5 separate regions of the Homo sapiens genome follow, and regions 2, 3, 4 and 5 are each linked to region 1. Evidence: promoter capture Hi-C in 16 types of primary human blood cells and fetal thymus (Javierre and others, 2016). All regions are on one chromosome and are shown on one strand. Each heading gives the region's core, a stretch centred on a gene start or on the middle of the fragment in contact. The rest is flanking DNA. Distances are from core to core; before and after follow the strand shown.

Region 1 (2,671 bases), core at 113-2,612:
AGAAACCTGTAACCATTGCTGGTGGGTGTGTGTACTGGCTCAGATTTGGTGGGGTACAGAGGAGCCATCAATGAAAAACCTGTAAATGATGCATATCTATGATCCAGCAACACTTTTTTTTTTTTTTTTTTTGAGATGGAGTCTTGCTCTGTCGCCCAGGCTGGAGTGCAGTAGCGCAATCTCGGCTCACTGCAAGCTCCGCCTCCTGGGTTCACGCCATTCTCCTGCCTCAGCCTCCCAAGTACTTGGGATTATAGGTGTGTGCCACCACACCCAGCTAATTTTTGTTTTTTTTAGTAGAGATGGGGTTTTACCATGTAGCCTAAGCTGACCTCAAACTCCTGGGCTTAAGTGATTGGCTCACCTTGGCCTCCCAAAGTGCTGGGATTACAGGCGTGAGCCACCACACCTGGCCTGCTCCAGCAACACTTCTAAGGACGGTTTCTAAAGAAATGAGTGGATTGCTGCTCACATCTGTATGCACATGGATGTTTATAATAGTCATGCTTTGTAAACAACCTAGATGCCTAACCACAGAAAACTGTTTAAATTACTGCACATCCATGTAATGGAATACTATGCAGGGGTTTAAAATAATTGCATAGATATCTGCAAACATGAAAATATGTCCATGATACGTCATGATTAAAAAATAAGGTTCCTGGTCAAGTACCATGGCTCACGCCTGTAATCCCAGCATTTTGAGAGGCCAGGGCGGGCAGATCTCTTGAGCCCAGGAGTTCAAGACCAGCCTGGGCAACATGGCGAAACCTCATCTCTACAAAAAATACAAAAATTAGCTGGGCACGGTGGTGTGCACCTGTAGTCCCAGCTACTCAGGAGGCTGAGGTGTGAGGATTGCTGGAGCCAGGGAGGTAGAAGCTGTAGTGAGCCAAGATTGCACCACTGCACTCCCGCCTGTGTGACAGAATGAGACCCTGTCAAAAAAAAAAAAAAAAAAAGCTCCTAAAGTGCAATTTTAAAAAACAAATGATTACTTATAGCGAAAAGACTAGAGGACACATGCAAATGTGTACAGTATTTATCTCTGGGTAATAGAACTATGGGTGTTTTTCATTTTCTTCTTTTACACCTTTATGTAATGTGTTAATATTTTATCATTAGGGAAAAAAACAGCAAAGCTATTTTCAGCTTGAAATGAAAAAAGGTTGATAAAGGGGATTGGGGCTTAGGTGATTAAAGGCAAGCATGTGAGTCAGACATGGCCTCCCAGCCCCTGCCGGACTGTTGCGCTGTCGCCGGACACTCAAGTTGCTATCAGGAGCACTTTTCTCTGTCAAAGTGACTGGCTTTTGTCATGCAATCCCCAAGTTATAATGGGAGGGTAGGATAGGCCCCAGAGCAGTCAGCTGAGCCAGCCCCGCTCAGTGAGTCTGTCCTCTGGGGCTCGCCATGCCCCCAGCCTCCGCATGGGGAACACCATCAGGGCCCTCGTGGCCTTCATCCCTGCTGACCGTTGCCAGAACTATGTGGTCAGGGACCTCCGTGAGATGCCGCTGGACAAGATGGTGGATCTGAGTGGGAGCCAGTTACGCCGCTTCCCCCTGCACGTGTGCTCCTTCAGGGAGCTGGTCAAGCTCTACCTGAGCGACAACCACCTCAATAGCCTGCCTCCGGAGCTGGGGCAGCTACAGAACCTGCAGATTCTGGCCTTGGATTTCAACAACTTCAAGGCTCTGCCCCAGGTGGTGTGCACCTTGAAACAGCTCTGCATCCTCTACCTGGGCAACAACAAACTCTGCGACCTCCCCAGTGAGCTGAGCCTGCTCCAGAACCTCAGGACCCTGTGGATCGAGGCCAACTGCCTCACCCAGCTGCCGGATGTGGTCTGTGAGCTGAGTCTCCTTAAGACTCTGCATGCCGGCTCCAACGCCCTGCGTTTGCTGCCAGGCCAGCTCCGGCGCCTCCAGGAGCTGAGGACCATCTGGCTCTCGGGCAACCGGCTAACTGACTTTCCCACTGTGCTGCTTCACATGCCCTTCCTGGAGGTGATTGATGTGGACTGGAACAGCATCCGTTACTTCCCCAGCCTGGCGCACCTGTCAAGTCTGAAGCTGGTCATCTATGACCACAATCCTTGCAGGAACGCACCCAAGGTGGCCAAAGGTGTGCGCCGTGTGGGGAGATGGGCAGAGGAGACGCCAGAGCCCGACCCTAGAAAAGCCAGGCGCTATGCGTTGGTCAGAGAGGAAAGCCAGGAGCTACAGGCACCAGTCCCTCTACTTCCTCCTACCAACTCCTGAGGAGCTTCAGTTGCAAGTCAATGCCAAGGACCCAACTGCAGCATGTTCTGGAAGCCTCTCCATTGGAGTGGAAAGGATGGCTCTGGGTCATTTGGGAGTGGCTCTGCTAGTAGAGACTGATGGAGAGAGCCAGGTGGAATGCCATAAATCACACTGAGAAAATATTTCTGGCAAACAGCTCCTCTTCCAGAGGGGAGTTGTGTGCCAATGATGGCATGACAATCCAGAGATCATAACTTCTTTGCAAGAAAACAGCTTCTCCACACATGTATTTTGAAACACTGAAGAGCAAAAGGGGCTGGGACACTCTGAACTCCTGCACTCTCCAGAAGTGACTGGTCATGAAGCTCATGAGCTCCTCAAATAAGGTATTTGCCATAGAACTAAATATTCTGGTGGTCTGTCTC
Region 2 (2,671 bases), core at 112-2,611, 430 kb after region 1:
TGCTCAAAGAGGCTGAGAAACAGTCCAAGGCCATCCAGCTGGTAGGAGGTTCAGTAAAAATTCTAATCCAGTTTGGTAACTCCTATCCTACCATCCCATACTGATTCTCCCAGAACAAGAAGGCTTCTGCCAGTGCCATTCACCCAAATCAACCAAAACTTGATCTTTTGGTGGAGTTTGCCACTGTGGCAGCCAGCTACTAAGGAATTGATTACCTTGCCTTGGAGTGATCTGATTTGGTTGCTATGAATGCCTGAATAAGTCAGGTAAAGACTTTGTGGTCTGTCCTGAGGACAGATGATTATCCAATGTGTGAAAGGCAATGTGAATGAGGGTGTGAAAGATAATCAGACTGAGAGCTGGTCTCCTTATTGATATCCAGGAGCAAAACTACAGAGGCAGGCTCTATAAATAGCTGTTGTAATCACCAACCAAAGGACAGTCCTTTCTTTGTGCTTAATGTGGAAAAATCTTTTGGTCACACACCAGTGGTTTCAGTAACATCTGCACATTTTTGGCTTTTGAACACAAAAACCAAATTTTAATTCAGACTAGAAGTTATTTAAGTGAATTTTTCTTCAGTTGTGCAGAAGATAAGAGGGAGAGTCAGAAGTCAACATTATAATTTATGATCTTCATGTTTCTTTTGTCAGTTTCCAGAAGAAATCAGAAAAGAGATGGTGCGTGTGTGTGTGTGTGTGTGTGTGTGTGTTTGAAGGAGTATATATTCTTATACACTTCTATATAAAAATTTCTTTTAAAATATGTTGTAAAGACAAATCATTGCATAAACCTTAGTTCAGAAAACCTAAGTCTTCTATTTCTTTAAAAATGGAGATAAAGTCTGTACCCTGCCACCAATATCATTGATTCAGTTCAAGCCAGACGTAAACAGTCTGATTACATCACTGCTGCACATCCAGCTAGCTTCTTGGTTGAGACCTTCTGAGGTGTTAATTGCAATTGTGAATTAATCATTATTCCACTGAGCCAGAGTCTTATTTTCCTCTTCAAGCTTCTCATTATTAAGTTTGCTTGAATTGGTTAATGTGAGGACATCATCAATGCAAATTATCATTCAGCAATACAATACTAAACACGCACAACTGTTTCCATTATGCACTCTATCACGTAGAATTTTACATGTGAAAAGTCATAATTAACCACCATTCTAAAATTCTCTTTTTGTTTCTTTATTATCGTTTATGTTCATGAGTTCAGGACTTTTACCAGGATCTCTTTTTCTTCTCACACACTCCGAAACCCAAAATGAAAGCCATGGTGGTTCCACTCTTTTTGGAAAGTTACTGATTTCAGAAAAGAATAGCAATAAATATTTGGTACAAGTGCTTTTCAAAAGTACTAGCTCCTCTCTGACTTTATTTACATTAACAAAGCTATTATAGTAGTCTTGCCATGATAAAAATAATTCAGCAAAACTGATAATCTATTAAGATGAGAATGTGTAATTCCACTATTTTTCAGAAGTTTTCAGTGCTGGAAATTAAGGACTTTTAATAAAAGTGCCTCTCCATCATAGCTACAGGAAAGTTGCACTTGTATCTTGGAAACCCGTGGGACTAAGAAAGGATCTAACCAGGAGAGGATTGGGAGGTTGAGTATTTGGCACTGGGGTGGGTCAGGTGCTGGGGAGGCTGATCTGGTTGCACCTGCTGATAGTGGAAGTTTTTCTAATCAGCAAGCTTGGGCATTCAGTGGATTCTAGTTTGGGCCTGTGCTTGGAAAGGAGAGAATCAACATACAGAGATTGCAACTCAGTGTTGCTGGGCGTGGTGGCTCACACCTGTAATACTAGCACTTTGGGAGGCCGAGATGGATGGATCACCTGAGGTCAGGAGTTCGAGACCAGCCTGGCCAACATGGTGAAACCCCGTCTCTACCAAAAATACCAAAAATTAGCTGGGCATGGCAGCGTGTGCCTGTAATCTTAGCTACTTGGGAGGCTGAGGCAAGAGAATTGCTTGAACCCAGGAGGCGAAGGTTGCAGTGGGCCGAGATTGCACTATTGCACTCCAGCCTGGGCAACAAGAGCAAAACTCTGTCTCAAAGAAAAAAAAAAAAAGGAAAGTCAGTGTTGAAACCACCTTTGTAAAAATTGTGTCAGTGAGAAAATTGTGACAGAGAAAGAGATCTGATCTAACCCACCCCTCCCTTGCCTTTAGCTTTCAAGCTGCCTTAATTATTCCTGATCTTAGGCTGAGCTAACTTTGGAAGACATTTAGGTCAGGGGTCCCCAGCCCCTGGGCCACACACCAGTCTCTGGCCTGTTAGGAACCAGGCTGCACAGCAGGAGGTGAGAGATGGGTGAGAGAGCAAAACTTCATCTATATTTACGCCACTCGCCGTTACCGCCTGAGCTCCACCTCTTGTCAGATCAGCAGTGGCATTAGATTCTCATAGAAGTGTGAACCCCCTTGTGTTCTGAGTATCCCTCACATACCTGGGATCTAGGCTGCACACTCCTTAAGAGAGTCTAATGCCTCATGATCTGTCACTGACTCCCATCACCCCAAATGAGCCCATCTATTTGTAGGAAAACAAGCTAAGGATTCCACTGATTCTACATTACGGTGAGTTGTATAATTATTTCATTATGTATTACAATGTAATAATAAAAGAAATAAAGCACACAATAAATATAATGCACTTG
Region 3 (2,671 bases), core at 114-2,613, 360 kb after region 1:
TAATTTTCCATTATAAATATACAACATTAAAAGAAATGTATCCATCAGTTCATGGACATTTGGGTTGCTTCCACTTTTTGCTACAATAAAAAGATGTACAATATCATTAACTATTGGGGAAGTGCAAATCAAAACCACAAGATACCACCCCATACCCACTAGGGTGGCTATAATCAAAAAGACAAGTATTAAAGATGTGGAGAGGCCGGGTGCAGTGGCTCACGCCTATAATCTCAGCACTTTGGGAGGCCAAGGCAGGAGGATCATGAGGTCAGGAGTTCAAGACCAGCCTGACCAACATGGTGAAACCCCGTCTCTACTAAAAATTCAAAAATTAGCCAGGCATGGTGGCGTGTGCCTGTAGTCCCACGCTGGGAGGCTGAGACAGGAGAATCGCTTGAACCTGGGAGGCAGAAGTTGCAATGAGCCAAGATTGCGCCACTGCACTCCAGCCTGGGTGACAGAGTGAGACTCTGTCTCAATAAATAAATAAATAAATAAATATGTGGAGAAACTGGAACCATTGCACATTGCTGATGAGCACGTATTAATAAAATGGCACAATGCCTCTGGCAAATAATCTGGTAATTCCTCAAACATTTAAACATAGAGTTACTATATTAACCCAGTAATTCCATTCCTAGGTACACATCCAACAGAACTGAAAATACATGTTCACACAAAATGGGTACACAAATATTCACAGGGGCATTTTCCTTAATAGCCAAAAGTGGAAATAACCTAGACGTCCATCGACTGATAGATTAAAAGAAAAAAGTGCTATATCCATGTAGTGGAATATTACTCAGCCATAAAAAGAAATGCTGATGCATGCTTCAACATGGATGAACCTTAAAATCATTATGCTAAGGAAAAAAGCCAGTCACATAGGACTACGTATTTTATGATTCCATTTAGATGAAATGTCCAGAACAGGCATATCCAGAGCACGTTAGCAGTTGCCAGCAGATAGGAAGAGAGGAAATGGGAGTGACTGCTAACCAGGTACAAGGTTCCTTCTTGGAGTGATGAAATGTTCTGGAATGAGACAGTGGTAATGGTTGCTAAACTTCATAAATATAATAAATTATCATTGAATTGTACATTTAAAAGCCTGCATTTTATGGCATATGAATTATACCTCAAAAAGAAAAACAAATTTAAAATAATCAGAATGATTACCAATTCGTATAGTTACAGGATATTCTAAATTATTTGAGGGAGGGAGGGTCTTAGTAGCTTAAGAAGCTTAAGCTCTTTTCCCCCTAATGTTCAATATGATCTTTTAAATTATCCTTCTTATTTTAGTCAACAAGTTCTGCTGTTTGCACCAGGATTATCTTGGGTCACAACATTTAGAAAAAACTAAATTAATTTAACAAATATTTATTAAGCACCACTTCTTATACGCAAGGTACCATTCTAGAGCTGGAGAAGTAATAGAGAACAAAACAAAATCTCTGTTCTCATTAAGCTTAAAGGCTTGGAAGAGGAGACAACAAACGAGTAAAATATATCAGAGCAGAAATAAAGGAAACAGGATAGGAAGGTGCTACTTTGCACAAGATGGTCATGGAAGAAAACTCTTAAACAGTTTGAGTCCTGAATGAAGTCAAAGAGTAAGCCATGTGGATATTTGAGGGGGAAAAGTAAACCAAGAAGAGAAAACAGCTAAAGGTCCTAGGTAGGAATTGGTCTGGCCAACAGCAAAGAGACTAATGTGGCTGAAAAAGAGTGGTAGGATAGGGTTAGAAAGGTGGTGGGAAAACAGACCAGAAAGTACCTTGTAGACAATGGTAAAGAATGAGACAGACAGGAAACCATGAGAAGATTGAGCAGAATGTCATTTTTTTTTTAGAACTTCTGTTATGTGGAGTACAGACTGTAGGGGGCAGTCTATACTTCCAGTTAGGAAGCTACTGCCAAAGTTTAAGTGAGAGATGATAGTGGCTTTGACCAAGTGGTATAAGTAAAGTTAGTGAGAAGTATTCAGACTCTGCATATATTTTGAAAATATTCTCAGTTTAGTATAAATTGGTATAATCTTCTAAGATAAGTAAGCAATATAAGAAATAAGAAAATTCTTTATCATTGTGCATCTAACAATTTATCCTTAAAAGAAAATCCAAAATCTGTACCAAAAGACTTATATAAAATGATGTCTGCTGCAACATTATTTACAATAGGCAAAAGTGGAAACCACCACGATAACCAAAAATAAGAAAGGTAAATTACAGTAGCATACCAGGTATGATGCAAAAGAATTAGACATTAGAGAGGATGTGTATTTATTTTTATTCCTTATATCAAACATATAAAACACATGAATTATAATTCCATTATTTATTTATTTATTTATTTTTAGGAAAAAGCCCAAAAGAATCTTCACTAAAATGTTAAAAGTAAACATCAATGAATGGTAGGACAGTGGTATTTTATTTTCTTACTTTTAGATATCTGTATTTATAATGTTCTCATGCTGAGGCTATCCCACTTGTATAGTTTAGTAGTGAAATAAAGCAAAATATCCATGTAACACATTATTCAGTTGCCCATCTTCTCCCATCTCTTAATCACAGGGAGAGTAATGGTTCTTAAACTGTCATTTCAACAACCATTTCAACCACAGATAGAGAAAACTTGGGAAAAATAGAAAATAAATCTGTCCACA
Region 4 (2,671 bases), core at 126-2,625, 340 kb after region 1:
TAAAACTACAAAAAATAAATAAATAAATAAATAAATAAAAATAATAAAAAAAAATTGGCCGGGTGTGATGGCTCACACCTATAGTCTCAGCTACTCGGGATGCTGAGGCTGAAGAATCACTTGAACCTGGAAGGCACAGGTTGCAGTGAGCCAAGAATGCGCCACTGCACTCCAGCTTGGGTGAGAGAGCGAGACTGTCTCAAAAAATAAAATGTTAATAGCAATCCCCTAAAAAACAACAGGACAGCATCGGTGATTGTGTTCTTCAGCTGGGTTGACAACCGTTAAAGTGAAAACTGATGAAGACAATTACTGCCTTCTCCGTCCCATAGCTTGATCCATCTACCCTCTCCCAGGGGATGAATGTGTTACTAGATGGACTGCCACCATAAAAATGGGAGCCTTATCTTAGATAGCAAACCCTGACAATCTCACAGATAAACACTGTTACTTCTAAACTAAGCCATGCCCACACCACAATGCCCTCAATTTCTATTTCAAAGAAAACATAAGTCACTAAATATGACATCTTAAAATTTCTACCACACACCTACAGCCCACAAACTTCTATTTTTATCTACCCTTATCTTCTCTCCTGACAGGAAGAGGTGTTTCTCTTTTATCTATTCTTTTATCAATTTAATCTGCAGCCAAGAAGCTTTTTGAAATGTTGATTATGACACTTCACACAATTCAATGATTCCACATGACTCTTAGGACAATCTTTAATGTGACCTACAAGCTCCGGAGAGCCTAGCCTTGCCAACTGCTTGAGCTCCACACATAGGCTATGTTCTTCACTCCCTGCTTCAGCCAAACTGGCATTCTTTCAGTTCCTACTAGCATGCTCCTCTTGCCAAAAGCCCTTTTTGCAAGTCTCTGCCTAAAAGGTACTTCCCTTTCCCATTCACCATTTTTTTCCTACAGATCTCAGTATAACATTAAAGTAGTAAATTTCATTTTTTAAAGTTTTTCTATAAAATGAATATAGATTTTTGAAAGGTAAAGTATATATCATTTATCTGGAACTGACAATAGTTTATCAGAACTGATGTACCACACGAAAATCCAAGAACTGTTAATGAACTATAAATGGGAGAAAAAGACCAACAACATCATTGGAAATCATTTCTAATAATTATTGTTTCATGGTAATGGCTCTGAAACAAAACTAGGAAGACTGGGAAAAGTCTGTCCATAAATCTTTTGTAAAAAAAAAGCTTCTCTCTTTCACTAAATTAGGTCTTGAACTGAGTCATATGTAGTGTGGCATCTGGCCAAAAAATATTCCTAATGATCTTCTCTTAAAGTTAAATGACCTCACAGGGTAGGGACGAGAGTCTCAACTAATTCAACACAAATAGGGATTGATCAATGGAAACATACAACAAACAGTAACAGGAAATCTAACAAAAATCTGAACCACAATTTTAGTGGAGGCATGGAAAGGGATCCCAGTGATGGTAGTATTATTTCTCATGTTCATATTCACTTGTTTAGAACTGTTACCTTTAATACTCTGAAGCTTGCAGGTAAGAAATCTGAGGCCTGATATTAATACCTGGCACAGAAATATCTACTGAAATCACTGAAACTGAAGTCTGTTACTGTTTCAAAAGTACCCCATAATGTTTCCAAGCTAACCAGTAAAATATTTTTGCTACAAACATTTTTACTTAAGTCTAGTAAGGTTAATGATCCTCTAAAACTAGACAAATGCTTTCTGAATCTTCCATTTAAAAACCATGTAACAGCCTGGAAATCTGTCAGGCCTCTTAATCCTAATTTTAGCCCAATTATCAGTCGCTTTAAAGAGCACCAAAATGTCAATACACAAGAAAACCACCACTATCTGGCTTAAAGATAGAATACAGACAACAGTCCAATTTCTGCTATACTGCATATTGCCAATAAACATTAACTACTTAAAACCATACACAATGGTTACCAAATAACAAATTAAACAAAAAAGACAAACTGCAAAGTCTTATCAAAAGTTTGTTTTATTTTCAATACAAGATAAATACCATGCTTGTTACTAGTGCAGTTTAAGGCCGACAATGGCCATATATCAAACTGCCGAACAGTCACCTAAATGCTAAAGAAAGGAAAGACAAAGTAAACATTAAACACAAAATTGCAATTACAAACATTTTAATAAAATGGAATGAGCTTTTTAATTGAAGCTAATATGAAGTCTAATTCTCATGGACAGCAAAAAAAAAAAAAAAAAAGTCTATTAGATCAATTATCACCTTACCTTTTTGCACAGAAATCTTATTGTGAAGTCACCATAGAGTCAATAGCTAAAATTTTAAGACTTTCTTTGGCCTTCTGATATTAAACAAATTATTTACAAACTGTGATCAGTAATTCGTGGATATTGGTAAAATGATACAATTTTTTGTTGTTGTTGTTAAGGGCTTTCCATTAAAAATTGTAAAACAACTTTGTAAGGCTGTACAGGGCTGTAAACTACTTTGCTAATATACCATGGGATGCAGAGGAAGGAATAATAGACCTTTTTTTTAAGGCTAAAGTTATCAATGTTATAGATGCATTCCTTAAAATACATTATGATTTATACCCAAAGGATCCTTTCCCATTAAATACCACCTGAGTACTACAATTTTCAAAGTAAAAAAATAAACATGAATTCACCATAGTTATT
Region 5 (2,671 bases), core at 125-2,624, 310 kb after region 1:
TGATATGAGGGTTGGGCTCCCAAAGCCTTGAGCAGCTCTGCCCCTGTGACTTTGTGGGTTCTGCCCCACAGCTGATCTCACAGGCTGTTGAGTGCATGCAGCTTTTCCAGGCACAGGGTGCAAGCTGCCAGTGGATCTACCACTCTGGGTTCTTGAGGACAGTGGTCCCCTCCACTAGGCAGTGCCTCAGTGAGGACTCTGTGTGTGGGCTCCAACTACACATTTCCCCTCAGCACTGCCCTAGCAGAGGTTCTTTTTGAGGGCTCTGCCCCTGTAGCAGGCTTCTGCCTGGGCACCCAGGCTTTTTCATATATCCTCTGAAATACAGATGAAGGCTGGCACACCTCATTCACTCTTTCACCCTACAGGCTTAACACCATGTGGAAGGCACCAAGGCTTACAGTGGCTTTCACTCTCCAGAATGGTGGCATGAGCAGTATCTGGGGTCTTTTGAGCCAAGGCTTGAGCCAGAGTGGCCAGAATGTAGGGAACAGTGTCCTAAGGCTGTGCAGGGCAATGGGGCCCTGGACCTGGCCCATGAAACCATTCTTCCCTCCTAGGCCTCTGGGCCTGTGATGGAGGTGCTGCCATGAAGGTCTCTGAAATGGCTTTGAGGTCTTTTTCCCACTCTCTTTGATATCAGCACTTGGCTCCCTTTTAGTTATGCAAATATCTCTAGCAAGATATTGCTCCACAGCCTGCTTCAATTTCTCTCTCGAAAAACCTTTTACTCTCTTTGCCACATAGCTAGGCTGCAAAATTTCCAAATATTCTCTTATCTTCCTATCTTCTTCTCTGCCCTCCAAACTCTTCCAGCGTCTGCCTGTTACCCAGCTCCAAAGTCAGTTCCACATTTTCAGGCATCTTTATAGCAATGCTCCACTCCTCAGCACCAATTTTCTATATTAGGCCATTCTTGCATTGCTATAAAGAAATATCCAAGACTGGGTAATTTATAAAGAGGTTTCACTGGCCCATGGTTGTGCAGGCCATACAAGCATGGCATCAACATTGCTCATCTTCTGGGGAGGCCTCAGGGAGCTTTTACTCGTGGTAGAAGGTGAAGTGGGAGCTTGCACATCACATGTTGAAAGCAAGAGCAAGAGAGAGAGAGAGAGGTGGGAGAGGTGCCACATACTTTTAAATGGCCAGATCTCATGCAAACTCAGAGCAAGTGCTCACTTATCACCAGGGGGATGGCCCGAGTCATTCATAGGGGATCCACCTGATAATCCAAACACCTCCCACCAGGCCCCACCTCCAACATTTCAACATGAGATTTGGTTACAGACAAATAACCAAACTATAGGCCAGGTGCAGTGGGTCATGCCTGCAATCCCAGCACTTTGGGAAGCCAAGGTGGGTGGATCATGAGGTCAAGAGATCGAGACCATCCTGGACAACATGGTGAAACCCTGTCTCTACTAAAAATACAAAAATTAGCTGGGCATGGTGGTGCACACCTGTAGTCCCAGCTACTTGGGAGGCTGAGGCAGAAGAATCACTTGAACCCGGGAGGCAGAAGTTGCAGTGAGCTGAGATCATGCCATTGCCCTCCAGCCTGGTGACACAGTGAGACTCCATCTCAAATAAAATAAAATAAAATAAAATAAAATAACCAAACTACAGCAATCTTAATCATTTTTTACTTAAAAATGATTACATTTCAGTAGTGTTAAATATATTCACATTATTGTGCAACAGATATCTAGGATGCTTTCATCTTGCAAAACTGAAACTTTATACCCCCAAACACTAATTCCTCTTCCCCCAACCTCCAGCCCTTAAAAACTACCTTTCTGCACTCTGTTTCTATAATTTCTGACCACTCTAAATACACCATATGAGTGGAATCATATAGTATTTGTCCTTTTATGAATGGTTTATTTCACTCAACATCATGTCCTTGAGGATCATTCATGTTGTAGCATATGACAGAATTCCTTAAGGCTGCATAGTATTCCATTGTATAAATATACCACACTTTCCTTATCCATTCATCTGTTGATGGACATTTGGGTTGCTTGCACCTCTTGGCTATTATGAATAATGCCACAATAAACATAAGTGTGCAAGTATCATTTAGAGACCTTGCTTTCAATTATTCTGCATGTATACCCAGAAATGAGATTGCTAGATCACATGGTTTTTCTATTTTTAATTTTTTGAGGAACCGCCATATGGTTTTCCACAGTGGCTGTGCCATTTTACATGACCACCACCAATACACAAGTGTTCCAACTTCTCCATATCCTCTCCGACATGTGTTATTTTCTGTTTTTTTGACAGTGGCCATACTGGTAGGTGTGAGATAATATCTCATTGTGGTCTTGATTTCCATTTCTTTAATGATTGGTGATGCTGGGCATTGTCCTGTGCATTTATTGGCCATTCACATATCTCTGGAAAAATGTCTATTTTGATCCTTTGCCCATTTTTAACTTAAGTTTTTGTTGTTGAGTTGTAGAAGTTCCTTATATGTTCTGGATATTAACCCCTTATCAGGTACATAATTTGCAGTTATTTTCTCCCATTCTATAGGTTTTCTTTTCACTGTTTCCTTTAGTGTGCTAAAGCACTTAAGTGTAATGTAGTCCCATTATCAATTACTGCTTTTCTTGCCTAGTGTTTTTGGTGTCATATCCAAAATATCATCGCCAAATCCAATGTC

The links. Contacts are between HindIII fragments. The CHiCAGO score rates a contact against its expected background, and 5 or more counts as called.
Region 2: a fragment that was not itself captured here is called in contact with the fragment with the promoter of LRRC10 in region 1 in 1 of 17 cell types (total CD4 T cells); the score reaches 5.8 in total CD4 T cells.
Region 3: a contact is called between a fragment that was not itself captured here and the fragment with the promoter of LRRC10 in region 1, in 1 of 17 cell types (total CD8 T cells). The highest score is 5.8, in total CD8 T cells.
Region 4: a fragment that was not itself captured here is called in contact with the fragment with the promoter of LRRC10 in region 1 in 1 of 17 cell types (non-activated CD4 T cells); the score reaches 5.8 in non-activated CD4 T cells.
Region 5: a contact is called between a fragment that was not itself captured here and the fragment with the promoter of LRRC10 in region 1, in 7 of 17 cell types (naive CD4 T cells, naive CD8 T cells, non-activated CD4 T cells and 4 more). The highest score is 7.8, in naive CD4 T cells.

What each region holds. Positions count from the first base shown.
Region 1 is chr12:69,609,598-69,612,268 of GRCh38, reverse strand. It overlaps LRRC10 (leucine rich repeat containing 10), which reads left to right and starts at 1,362. Exons shown (of 1, transcript NM_201550.4): 1 at 1,362-2,671. The coding sequence starts at 1,431. The coding sequence ends at 2,264. The HindIII fragment of the contact is 9,863 bases long and covers 1-2,671 here.
Region 2 is chr12:69,177,625-69,180,295 of GRCh38, reverse strand. No RefSeq gene overlaps it. Among named protein-coding and RNA genes, the nearest start is that of CPSF6, 61 kb to the left of the region's middle. RefSeq lists a silencer at 221-421. The HindIII fragment of the contact is 688 bases long and covers 1,018-1,705 here.
Region 3 is chr12:69,253,369-69,256,039 of GRCh38, reverse strand. All of the region lies in intron 3 of CPSF6 (cleavage and polyadenylation specific factor 6), which reads right to left. Among named protein-coding and RNA genes, the nearest start is that of CPSF6, 15 kb to the right of the region's middle. RefSeq lists an enhancer at 1,940-1,989. The HindIII fragment of the contact is 226 bases long and covers 1,251-1,476 here.
Region 4 is chr12:69,273,673-69,276,343 of GRCh38, reverse strand. CPSF6 (cleavage and polyadenylation specific factor 6) reads right to left here. Exons shown (of 10, transcript NM_007007.3): 10 at 1,986-2,671. Among named protein-coding and RNA genes, the nearest start is that of MIR1279, 1.8 kb to the right of the region's middle. The HindIII fragment of the contact is 305 bases long and covers 1,223-1,527 here.
Region 5 is chr12:69,296,207-69,298,877 of GRCh38, reverse strand. No RefSeq gene overlaps it. Among named protein-coding and RNA genes, the nearest start is that of MIR1279, 24 kb to the right of the region's middle. The HindIII fragment of the contact is 2,838 bases long and covers 1-2,671 here.